Linked DNA regions of Homo sapiens: region 2 is linked to region 1. The links are contacts of gene promoters, found by promoter capture Hi-C in human tissues and cell types (Jung and others, 2019). All regions are on one chromosome and are shown on one strand. The core of a region is centred on a gene start or on the middle of the fragment in contact, and the rest is flanking DNA. Distances in the headings are between cores, read along the strand shown.

The links. Contacts are between HindIII fragments. The study calls those that stand out against the background at their distance.
Region 2: a fragment that was not itself captured here is called in contact with the fragment with the promoter of SLITRK5 in region 1 in 1 of the 25 tissues and cell types used here (dorsolateral prefrontal cortex).

Annotation. Positions count from the first base shown.
Region 1 is chr13:87,668,867-87,674,441 of GRCh38, reverse strand. SLITRK5 (SLIT and NTRK like family member 5) reads right to left here and starts at 3,071. Exons shown (of 2, transcript NM_001384609.1): 1 at 2,233-3,071. It overlaps LOC124900338 (formin-like protein 5), which reads left to right and starts at 2,075. Exons shown (of 2, transcript XM_047430855.1): 1 at 2,075-3,606. The coding sequence starts at 2,137. The coding sequence ends at 2,661. It overlaps MIR4500HG (MIR4500 host gene), which reads left to right and starts at 3,479. Exons shown (of 6, transcript NR_033829.1): 1 at 3,479-3,606. RefSeq lists enhancers at 1-418, 2,843-3,344. The HindIII fragment of the contact is 26,915 bases long and covers 1-5,575 here.
Region 2 is chr13:86,851,724-86,857,946 of GRCh38, reverse strand. All of the region lies in intron 2 of LOC105370300 (a long non-coding RNA gene), which reads right to left. Among named protein-coding and RNA genes, the nearest start is that of LINC00430, 55 kb to the left of the region's middle. The HindIII fragment of the contact is 4,406 bases long and covers 18-4,423 here.

The DNA of each region.
Region 1 (5,575 bases), core at 1,822-4,321:
CAGTACACCAAGGATCAGCACGAAAGCCTCCCTTACCTTGGGCTCCGCGTCTATTTGCAACGGTAATAGCAAGGTTTGCACGGAACTACCACCTCGACAGCATCCCCATCTTTGGAGTTGCTTATTACATTTAATTGTTAACGCTCCCCTCTCTCTTTTTTTTAATCTCAGGGAAAGGACGCCTGGGCTGATTAAGAGGCAAAATAGAAAGGTGGGAGGAAGAACTGTAAGCGACTTAGGTCAGTTGTTTAATATCCGAATTTCATCTCCCACAGGAATCAATATGACCCCCTCCCCCTTTTTTTTCTTGCTCTCTTTTTGTCCCCTTGAAGGCTTCCTTCCACTTCCTACTTCTGATCAACAGCAGCACTCTTAAAGGAAGGACATAAATGGAATGAGCGTGTGTGTGTGTGTGTGTGTGTGTGTGTGTGTGTTTGTGTGTGCGCGCGCGCGCATGCTGCGTTGGTTAATGGGGTGGAGGACATTTGATAGAAATGCTGGACTCTAGGAACCTATGCCTTTTCTCTGGTCAACCTTGCCTTTGCCTCACTACCGAAGTCTAATATCGAATTGCAACTCCAAACTAAAGCCAAGATGTTTCCGAGACAGCGGGTTCAAGCCTGGAGACCTTGCTCCTGATCCCCAAGTCGACTCCAGCCCGCGTTATTAAACGCCCCTGCATTCAAACGCACATGTATCAGTGTGCCTGCGAATCATTCACGTGTGGCCACCCAGACGTGTCGAGATGAATTGGAACCACAGTGCATAAACCTCGCAAGTATCCCCGACCTCCCAACGCAACGGTAAACGTCTCCCGGCTTAAAAGCGGCAAAAACATCCCCACCCCAGTGAAAGCAAAACGTTTACCTTGAAATTTCAGTTCTCCGCTGGATCAAATCCGCACATCCATTCAGCGAGGTTGGGTCCCCTCCCCCTCCCTCCCTGTGCTTCCCCGCCCCCATTCACCTCCCACCCCATCTGAAAGCCCATTGCAAATTCAGTCCAGCCAGTATTAAACTCCAGCGTTTACAACTTTAATTCAGTTCTAGTTAGCAAGGGTCGAAGAGCTTCCTCTCAACCCACTCCCTTCCCCCTCCTCCTTGCTAGCAAAGGAGACCAAAAATTTGAGAAAATAAAGTTGAATGAGCCTGGGGAGGCTGACATTCTGACGGGGAAACGCACCTCCGATGCAAATTCGCGGGTGCGCTGAACATTCTCAGATTCTCAGATTTTTTTTTTTCCTGGAGGGCGGGGGCGGGGGAACTATTCATTTTCTCCCAAAGAATTTAGATACTGGATCACCGCCCTGTACGTCCCTGCAGTAAGCAGCATGGAGCCTCTCGGACTGGAGCCCAGCACCCAGGCCGCACCGGAGGCTCCGGGCACAGCTGCTCAAGCAGCAGCCCAGGCAGAAGCACCCGGAGTTCCAGGACGCGAGGCTCCCCCTCCCCCACCCCGCCCCAAAGAGAAGGAAGGGAAAACGGAGGAAGAAGGGGAGGGAGGAGAGGGAAGGAAAACCACCCCGCCACATAGACACACACACACACACACACACACACACACACACACACACACACACACACACACCTCTTTTGCAAAGTAAACGATAGACTTACCCAGTCTCACATCTCCAAGGCCCAGTCATCATAGCCACCCTTTAAAAACACACACATACACAAAAACCCTCTTTGGGGTATGCACTAGGTTTCTCAAGCCCAGGCAGGGCGAGGAGACTGCGAGCAGCGCAGTCCCAGAGGCTGGAGGAAAGAGGCGCCCGGACGCCTCCAGCCTGGGGCCGCCGCCGCGGTGGCGACCGCGGGTTCCGGGGCTCCCCAAAAGGCTCTCCCCGGTGCTCTCCGCGGTAGTCGGAGCGGGCAGCAGGGTTGGGGGGTGGAGAGCGGGGGGCGTTCTGCAGCGGCGGGATAGGGAGGCGGCGGGAGGGGGCGGCGGAGGTCCGGCTGGAGAGGCGCCTCGCGGTAGGGGCCGGGAGCCGGAGCCGGGCGGGGCGGGGAGGGGGAGCTGCTGGGAGGGGAGGCACGGAGCGGGAGGAGGGGGACGCGGAGAAGACTGCCTGGCCCCGCCGGCCCCGCCAACGTGACGGTCAGCCCCGCCGAGCGCTCGCACCCGCTCACACTCATGATCACTCGCACACTCGCTCCAATACGTGTTAAGGCGCGATCGCGGGGTCCCTGGCAGCCTTCGCTGCACCCTCCCCCCCACAGGGGTACTCACAGTTGCCATCTGCATAGGGGGCAACTTTCTCCGACCCAGCTGTGGCCGCCGCCCCCTCCAGCCTCCTCTGGCTCCTCGCACCCTCCGGCCTGGGTTCGCGCCGGCCGGCCCTCCCCTCCCCCCTCGGCTCTCCTCCTCGCCGTCTTCACCACATTCCCCCCTGGTCAGTGGCGCACGCCGGGGGACGAGCCAGAGGGAGCGGGTCGCGGGGGTGTGCATGCATCTCCCGCCTTCTTCTTGCAGCGCACACTGTACATGGTAGTGAGGGGGCGAGCAAAGGTGGCACCGGCCCCTCGGCTGCTCCAGCGAAGGCGGCGGCTGCAGCTCCTGCGCTGTCCTCCGCCCCCCAGCGCAGCGGCGACCACCGCGCTGGGATCCCGCCGACGCTGTCTCCGCGCCGAGCCCGCCGCCGCCGCGGCCCCTAATTAGTATTTGAGAGGCTCTTGCATCCCTTTGGCAGTTTCATCCTCACGGTGTTTGCAGGGTTTTTTTCTGTATCCCTTCCCCAGATGCGGCGCACAATCGTCATTAGTTGGAACTCTCTATCACCGACATCCTTTGGGGTTTCTGGGGGAAGGGGGGGGCGGGCAGCAACCGCGTCGTTCTATGCCTGTGGCTTGTCCTGGCAGCCCGGTGGCTCTAAAAAAAACTCCGAGAAAGTTGCGTCTTCCTCCCGGGCGCCGAGGAGGTGGCAACGCGGTAAGCAACACCGGGTCTCTGAGACAGCTGCTCCGGAGCGGGTGCAGGGCCCAGTCCAGTGCACTTGTTTATTGTCGCGCCTCTGGTGCGAGCCAAGCTGCAGCAGACATGATGGGCCCGGGGCGAAGCGGGCGCTCGGTGGCCGATAGATGGCAGCCGAGGGCGAAGGCGTCCCTGGGCTAGGGCGGCGCAACCGGGGCCCCCTTGGATGTCACATTCGTAGGAAGAGAGAGAAGTCTTGGACCATGTGTGTAATTCGAGCGTGGGACTGTGCAATTCTCGGATTGGGAAAGGGAGGAGTGGAAATAACCCCGGCAGTGCCAGGCTTGCTGGTGGTCAGGAACAGATGATTCCAGCCCTGTGCTGATCGCCTGCCTTCCTCCTGCCATTCAGAATGCTGCTGTCTCGTGTACTTACTGTTAAGGATCCTGGAAAAGGGAGTGGTTCCTCCTAGCTGCAAACAAGGGCGCTACTTTTCTTTTCTCTTTAATAGAATTACGTTTTATAGGTGTGTCTAGGCAACACAAGGGAATGTGAAAGACTTTCAGAGGGAATGTTTGTGAATACATCTGGTGTGTACTAAAAAGCTGGAAAACCCCTAAGTAAATGCAATATCGATAGAAAGCGAGTTTCTTGAAGAGTCATCTGCTAAACTCCACTAGAGTCATCTCTACAGTAAGTATTCTTGGGTCTTTCCATGAAACCAGACACTTCCATCCCCAAAAAGGGGTCTTTACTTTCATAAGACATGTTTTCAATATTTGTAATATTAGACCTGCCGTTCATCCCGGGTATAAGAGAAAAGTTGATAATAGTAAGTGACCCAGTGCAGGCTGAGTGCACATGTGCCTGTTCCTTTGATAACTATGTAGTTAGTTTCTCCATGTAAATATATTTTACCCACTTTATTTTGCAATTAATTACGTCTTAATTATTATTGATATTGTTTTATTCTTAGTAATATTTGGGATAATACTGTGTTATAATCTGGTTAATCATATGTTTAATATTGATATAGAGTCTGATAATATGTCTATGTTCTGAGATGTATATATATCTCAGGTGATGAACATTGCAGTCTCCTGAGGTACTGCAATCTTTTTTGAACTTTCCCCTGCGTATGTTGTGTGAATATATATATTTTTACTTTATACCATAAAAACTTTATTTGGAAGCAATTTTGTTTAAGTATGGGTTATATTCAAGGGAGAGGAAGGAAAGAAGTAATATGTAATTTCAGACAATAAAAACAAAATCTTGTAATGAACGTTTCATTAAATTTAGAAGCATTTGACCTAGGAATGATAGCCACTAGCTGTAGATACATTGCATCAACAAATATAACTTACACGTCATCCACAAAAGGCTTATTTCTGTATTTTTTATTCAGTCATTAACTTTTAACATTATATAAACATTTCAGAAAATTTATTTTAAGTTTAAAATTACTTTTATATTTTCAAAATGAAATGAAATATTTAAATTTAAAATTATATAGGAATTACAGCCAGAAGCCTTTGGAATATAAATATTGAGTCCTATCAGAAACATAATTTTCAATATCGATTAACTTTGTAGAAGTTCTTAAAGGTCCTAAATTGTCTTAATCGATTATTGATTTTTTCAAAATAGCTGAAATAAAGCTGTTATATTTTATCACTGTTCTAAATCTTTATAATTTCATTCAATAGCAAAGTTTAATTCATGGTTTTGTATTATTTTTATTTTAAATATTTATTGTTCTAATTAAAGGAAATATTATTCAACTAAGAAGTATTAAATATGTTTGGAATTAGTTTAGGTTACAGTTTTGTTAGAAACACTTATGCTAATAATCTAGTTTACCTCTTGTGGTTCAAATAAGTAAATGATGAAAACTTTCTGCCATTAACTCAACATTAAGGATGGTCCCGGAAGCCACCATTACCTTTTGCCACTAGGTGTCTCTATAAGATGCTCTGCAAGAGAATGAAATTTTAGAAAATACTGTGACTTGAACAGTTCAGAACAGAAAAACACAAGAGGGAAAACATCATAGATATAAGGAAAAGCCTCAGTTATTAATCTGTTTCTTTATTTGCATTGAATGTTGACTATTGCTTAGAAAATATATAAGTGAATTACATAAGAGTGATCAAATATGAGCCAAAACTTTTACCCACATGAACAAATGTATCTATGTTTTAGTCTATACTAAGCAACACATGGTCATATGTGTATACATGCTTTCAGACAGCACTCAGATGCATGCACTTAATTACATAGATACATTTGGCCATTGTAAAATTAAATGATTGATCAAATATATCTCCCCAGAATTAAGTCTATTAATATTAAACATTATTTGATGGAGTTGGATGTGAAAGTCACATTTGTCCAAATGTTTGCAAATATTTTTTTTTCATATTAGAATTATCTATTGAGAGGGTATCATCATAAGTGTATATCATGTAGGGAAATATATTTGACATTTATATTGTAAATATAATTGTCATTATCAATTATGGCCATAATTTGATACCTGCAAATTTAAATTTAAATTGAAAACATAAGTAGCATACTTGCCACTTAAAATTGACCATATATTTTTGTAAATTTATATTTATTAGTTTCTAGAATTATTATTTTAGTGCTTTATGAACAC
Region 2 (6,223 bases), core at 971-3,470, 820 kb after region 1:
TGTAATCATTATTTTAATTTTAATTTTGAGTAACTCACTTTTCTATATATGCTCTATATGCTCTCACAAATTTAATGGAAATAAATAATGGACATTAGTTATCACATAGTTTCCATAGTTGAAGTGTATGGGCATGGCAAAACTGGGTCTACTACTGGGGCATTCATCACTGCAATAAGGTGTCAGGGCTGGGGACTCATCTGAGGTTCTAGGTCATCTCCAAGCTCCAAGCTTACACAGTATTGGTAGAATGAATTTCCTCAAAGCCTTATATATCAGAGAAGAGTTTTGCTTCTTCAAAGACAGCAGAAAAAAATCTCTGATTTTCAGACTGTCTTTTAAAGGGCTAGCCTGATTAGGTCAAGCCTAAGGAGGATAATTTACTTTCTATTAACTTAAAGTCAACTTATTAGGGGCCTTTATTAAATTTTCAAAATCCTTTTACCTTGGCTATACTCCAACAAAACATGGTCACAGGAGTGCTATTGCTTCACCTTTGTCATATTCTATTGGTTAAAACCAAGTTAGACTGCACACAGTGGCTCAAGCCTATAATCCCAGCACTTTGGGAGGCTGAGACGGACAGATCACAAGGTCAGGAGATCGAGACTATCCTGGCCAACTTGGTGAAACCCTGTCTCTACTAAAAACACAAAAATTAACTGGGTGTGATGGCGCGTATCTGTAATCCGAGCTACTCAGGAGGCTGAGAGACGAGAATCCCTTGAATCCAGGAGGCGGAGTTTGGAGTGAGCACTGCATTCCAGCCTGGTGACACAGTGAGACTCCAACTCAAAAAAATACAGGACTGTTCATTTAAGAGAAACACTGGAGTCATGTTACAGTTTGGCCTATCACAAAAATCGTTACTGCTTTTAAAGTATTTATTAGAAAGGTATAACTTATTCAAGATAAGCTATTAGCCATGACTTATATATATATATATATATATTTAAATAAATTTTGATTTATTTTCCTATTATATCAAGGGACTACTTCTAGGACACAACTTCAGCTTTGTAATTCCTGACTAGTTTAATGGGTTGAATTATCCAGATTTCTTTCATTCTCTTTTTTTTTTTTTTTTGACGGAGTTTCGATCTTGTTGCTCAGGCTGGAGTGCAATGGTATGATATCAGCTTACCACAACCTCCACCTCCAGGGTTCAAGCGATTCTCCTGCCTCAGCCTCCCAAGTGGCTGGGATTACAGGCACGTGCCACCATGCCTGGCTAATTTTGTATTTTTAGTAGAGATGGGGTTTCTCCTTGTTGGTCAGGCTGGTCTTGAGCTCCTAACCTCAGGTGATCCACCGGCCTTTTCCTCCCAAAGTGCTGGGATTACAGGCATGAGTCACTGCGCACGGCCCCAGATTTATTTCTTTTTCACTGTAGTAGTGAGTCAGACACATTAGTATAAACTGTTTCAAGAACACATTGGTCTATATTGAGTACAAGTTACTGTAATGACTCACAGGGGTCTATCCTACCTTTAGAAAGCAAAGTAATTTTTCATAATGGGCAAATGCATGAATTAATAATTTTTGATGGTTTTATACAATGCTACTATGAATATTTTCACATATGTGTAACCACTTTTATAGGTGATACCTGGGAGTGGAATACTTGCGTCTCAGAATATATACATATTCACACTCATCAAATATGCAAATAGTACTCCAAGGTTGTTAATCCAATTATAACTCAACTAGTGATGCATAAAAGTTCTCACTACTCTACATGCCCCCACAACCTTTGGCTTTGCAGAATTTCTTGTCTTGTCAACTTAAATGTTATGGGTATTTCTTGGCATATCCTTGATTGTTAGATTCTATTTTCTCTGTTTTTAATGATATTAAGCATTATGTTTCTCATTTTATATTTATATTTGAGAACTGCCTATTTAAGTCTTTTGCCCATTCATTTACACAATTCTCTATGTTTCTCTGTATTGGGAGATGTGAGCCTTTTATGTATTATCTATCAAAAATTTAACTGCTTACATGTATGGCATGCATTATCCCTAGCTGGTGATTTAGATTTACTATTCTACTTATATTTTCGTTGAAAAAGATTTTTTTTCTAACTTTTAAGGTAATATAGTCAAATTTGAAATATTTTTCTCCATAGTGATTTTGTGTTTGCTGAAAAACAGAAAAAAGACCTGTCCCTGGCCAGGCACGGTGGTTCACGCCTGTAATCCCAGCACTTTGGGAGGCCGAGGTGGATGGATCACAAGGTCAGGAGATCGAGACCATCCTGGCTAACACACAGTGAAACCCCGCCTCTATTAAAAATACAAAAATTTAGCCGGGCATGGTGGCGGGTGCCTGTAGTCCCAGCTACTCAGGAGGCTGAGGCGGGAGAATGGCATGAACCCAGGAGGCGGAGCTTGCAGTGAGCCGAGATCACACCACTGCACTCCAGCCTGGGTGACAGAGCGAGACTGTCTCAAAAAAAAAAAAAGACCTGTTCCCTGTCCCCCTTTAAGTCATGTCAATTGTGTTTTATTTATTTAAAAGATTATTTCACTTTTAACACTTAGATCTTTAATCTACTGAAATTATTTTACTGTAAAAGTGAAAGTGTAGTTCATTTATTTTCATACGGATTCCCAATTCAATAAACACCATTAGTGAAACTTCTATAATATACACTACTCTTTTTGAAAACCACCCTTTTCTATATATTACGTGACCAGATGGCTTAGTCCTTTTGGGCCACTATAACAAAATACCATAAACGGAGTGACTTTTAAACAACAGAACTTTATTCCATACAGTTCTGGAGGCCAGGAATGCCAAGATAAAAGCATCACCAGATTCAATGTCCGATGAGGAATTTCTGATTCATAGACAGTATTTGGTAGCTGTGTCTTCACAATGCGAAGGGGTGAATTAGCTCTCTGGTGTCTATAAGTGCACTATTCCCATTATAAGAGTCCTAATCCCATGACCTAGTCACTCCCCAATGCCTTTACATCTTAATACTATTACCTTGGGATTAGATTTCAACACTGAAAATTTGAGGTAGATACGAACGTTCATACAACAGCACAGACGTGAGAGTATATTTTTATATACTTTTTAATCTATGCTAATGTTAGTACCATACCTTCTTAATATAAATTTATATTAATGATTTGTTTCTAATAGAACATTTTTCCCACTTCGTTATTTTTATTCAAATTGTCGTATACATAATATAACCAATATAATAATGTCTATGAGAAAGAGTTGGAATAGTGAAAAAGCCAAATGTTATCTAATTCAAGATTTGATATGTATTTCTAAAACTGCACCGAATATATACAGATTTCTTTTCAAGAGGGAAACTACAAATAAAAAACTTAAACATTGAAGTTGTAGATACAATATTTTATAGTAAATAATTTATGTTACAGGTAATATTTGAAAATTAATGTTGGGAGAATTATACAATTGTACTAGTCTTTTTTTAACACCTACATACAAAATGATATGGGAAGAAGTTACATAAAAATTGAGTAAAAATAAAGCAACTATTTTTTCTGGTTTGCATTTTAATAATCTACTCTTAATTATTCATACATACACTTATTTTAAATCTCTTCAATTTAATTTAATTTTATGATTTTTACATATACTTATTAAATTTTTTTTATAAAAAGTACTGTTAAGGCAACATTATATATTTGTAAGGTGAAAAACATTTGCTTTTGCATGTTCATTAGCCACCAGAAATTCTTCTCTTGCATTAACTCATAAACTTCTCACAATAAATGTTTGAAGTCTGAATTCTCATTACCATTTAAAATAATAATATTGAAGTACACGGGAGTTAATTAAATTGCTAAGTTTTATATGAATGTTTTAGTGCAGATCTGTGATTCACGCTAAGGTCTTTTTATCTGCATTTTGTACTTTTTGCCTTAGTAACCATCTAACCAAAAAAAAAAAAATGCTGCATTTAAAATATTTGTTTTTTCAGTATTTATATCTACAAAAAGCAATATTGTTTTTATTTTTGTATTTTTAACATAACTATTTTTTTGTTTTTCTTAACCTAGGATCTGTGACTCAATTTTTTTTTCAGCTTTTATTTTAGGTTCAGAGGTACATGTGCAGGTTTATTAATACAAGCAAACTCATGTTATGGCGGTTTGTTATACAGAACGTTTTGTCACCAAGGTACTAAGCATAGTACCCAATAGTAAGTTTCCTGATCCTCTCCCTGCTCCCAATCCCCTCCCTCAAATAGGTCTCAGTGTTGGCTGTTTCCTTTTTCATGCCCATTGGTTCTCATTATTTAGCTCCCACTTATAAGTTAGAACATACATATTTTTTTTTCTGTTCCTCCATTAGTTTACTAACAATAATGACCTCCAACTCCATCCATGTTCTTGCAAAGGACATGATCTCATTCTCTTTTATGGCTGCATAGTATTTCATGACGTATATGTACCACATATTCCTTATCCAGTCTACCATCAATGGACATTTAGGTTGAGTCCATGTCTTTGCCGTTGTGAATAGTGCTACAATGAACATATGTGCACATGTGTCTTTATGGTGCAATTTTTTTTTTTTGAGATAGACTCTCACTCTGTCACCCAGGCTGGAGTGCAGTGGCTCAATCTCGGCTCACTGCAACCTCTGCTTCCTGAGTTCAAGTGATTCTCCTGCCTCAGCCTCCCAGGTAGCTGGGATTACAGGTGCCCACCACCATGCTCGGCTAATTTTTTAAATTTTATTAGAAACGAGGTTTCACCATATTGACCAGGTTGATCTCAAACTCCTGAACTTGTGATTTGCCCGCCTCATCCTCCCAAAGCGCTGGAATTACAGGTGTGGGCCACTGTGCCTGGCTATTGTATAATGTTTTGTATTCTTTTGGGTATATACCCAGTAATGAGATTTCTGGGTCAAATGGTAACTTTATTTTTAGTTATTTGAGAAATAACCACCCTGCTTTCCACAATAGTTGAACTAATTTACACTCCCACCAGCAGTGTGTAAGTGTTCCCTTTTCTCTATAACCTTGACAGAAACTGTTATTTTTTTGACTTTTTAAAAAATAGCTATTCTGACTGGTATGAGATGGTATCTCATTGTGATTTTGATTTGTATTTCTCTAATGATTAGTGATATAGAGCATTTTTATATGCTTGTTTGCTACATTTATATCTCCTTGTGAAAAGTGTCTATTCTTATCCTTTGCCTACTTTTTAATGGAGAATTGTTATTTGCTTATAAATTTAAGTTCTTTACATATTTTGGATATGAGACCTTTGTCAAATGCATAGGTTGCAAATATTTTCTCCCATTCTGAAGATTATGTGTTTACTCTCTTGATAGTTTGTTTTGCTATGCAGAAGCACTTTAGTTTAATTAGATCTCATTTGTCAATTTTTACTTTTGTTGCAATTGCCTTTGGTGTCTTTGTCATGAAATCTTTGCCAGTTTTTATGTCCAGAATGATTATTCCTTTCAGGGTTTTTATAGTTTTAGGTTTTACATTTTAGTCTTTATTTTGAGTTGATTTTTGTATATTGTGTAAGGAAGGGGTTCAGTTTCAATCTTCTGCAGATGGCTAGCCAGTTATCTCAACACCATTTATTGAATATGGCAGAGTCCTTGCCTCATTGCTTGTTTTTGTCAGGTTTGCCAAAGATCAGATGTGTGGCCTTATTTCTGGGGTCTCTATTCATTTGTATTGCTCTATGTGTCTGTTTTGGTACCACTTTCATGCTGTTTTGGTTACTGAAGCCCTGTATTATAGTTTGAAATTGAGTAATGTGATGCTTCCAGCTTTGTTCTTTTTGCTTAGGATTGCCTTGGCTATTCAGGCTCTTTTTGGTTCCATATGAATTTTAAAATAGTTTTTTCTAGTTATGTGAAGAATGTCATAGGTAGCTTGATAGGAATAACATTGAATCTGTAAATTGCTTTGGGCAGCAAGACCATTTTAGCAATATTGATTCTTCCTATCCATAAGCATGGAATGTGTTTTCATTTGTTTGTGTCATCTCTGATTTCTTTCAGCAGTGTTTTGTAATTTTAATTGTCGAGATCTTTCACCCCTGGTTAGCTGTATTTTTAGATATTTTATTCCTTTTGTGGCACTTGTGAATGGGATTGTGTTCCTGATTTGGCTCTCAGCTTGGATGTTGTTGGCATATAGAAATGCTACTGATTTTTGTAAATTAATTTTGTATACTGAAATTTTGCTGAAGTTATGTATAAG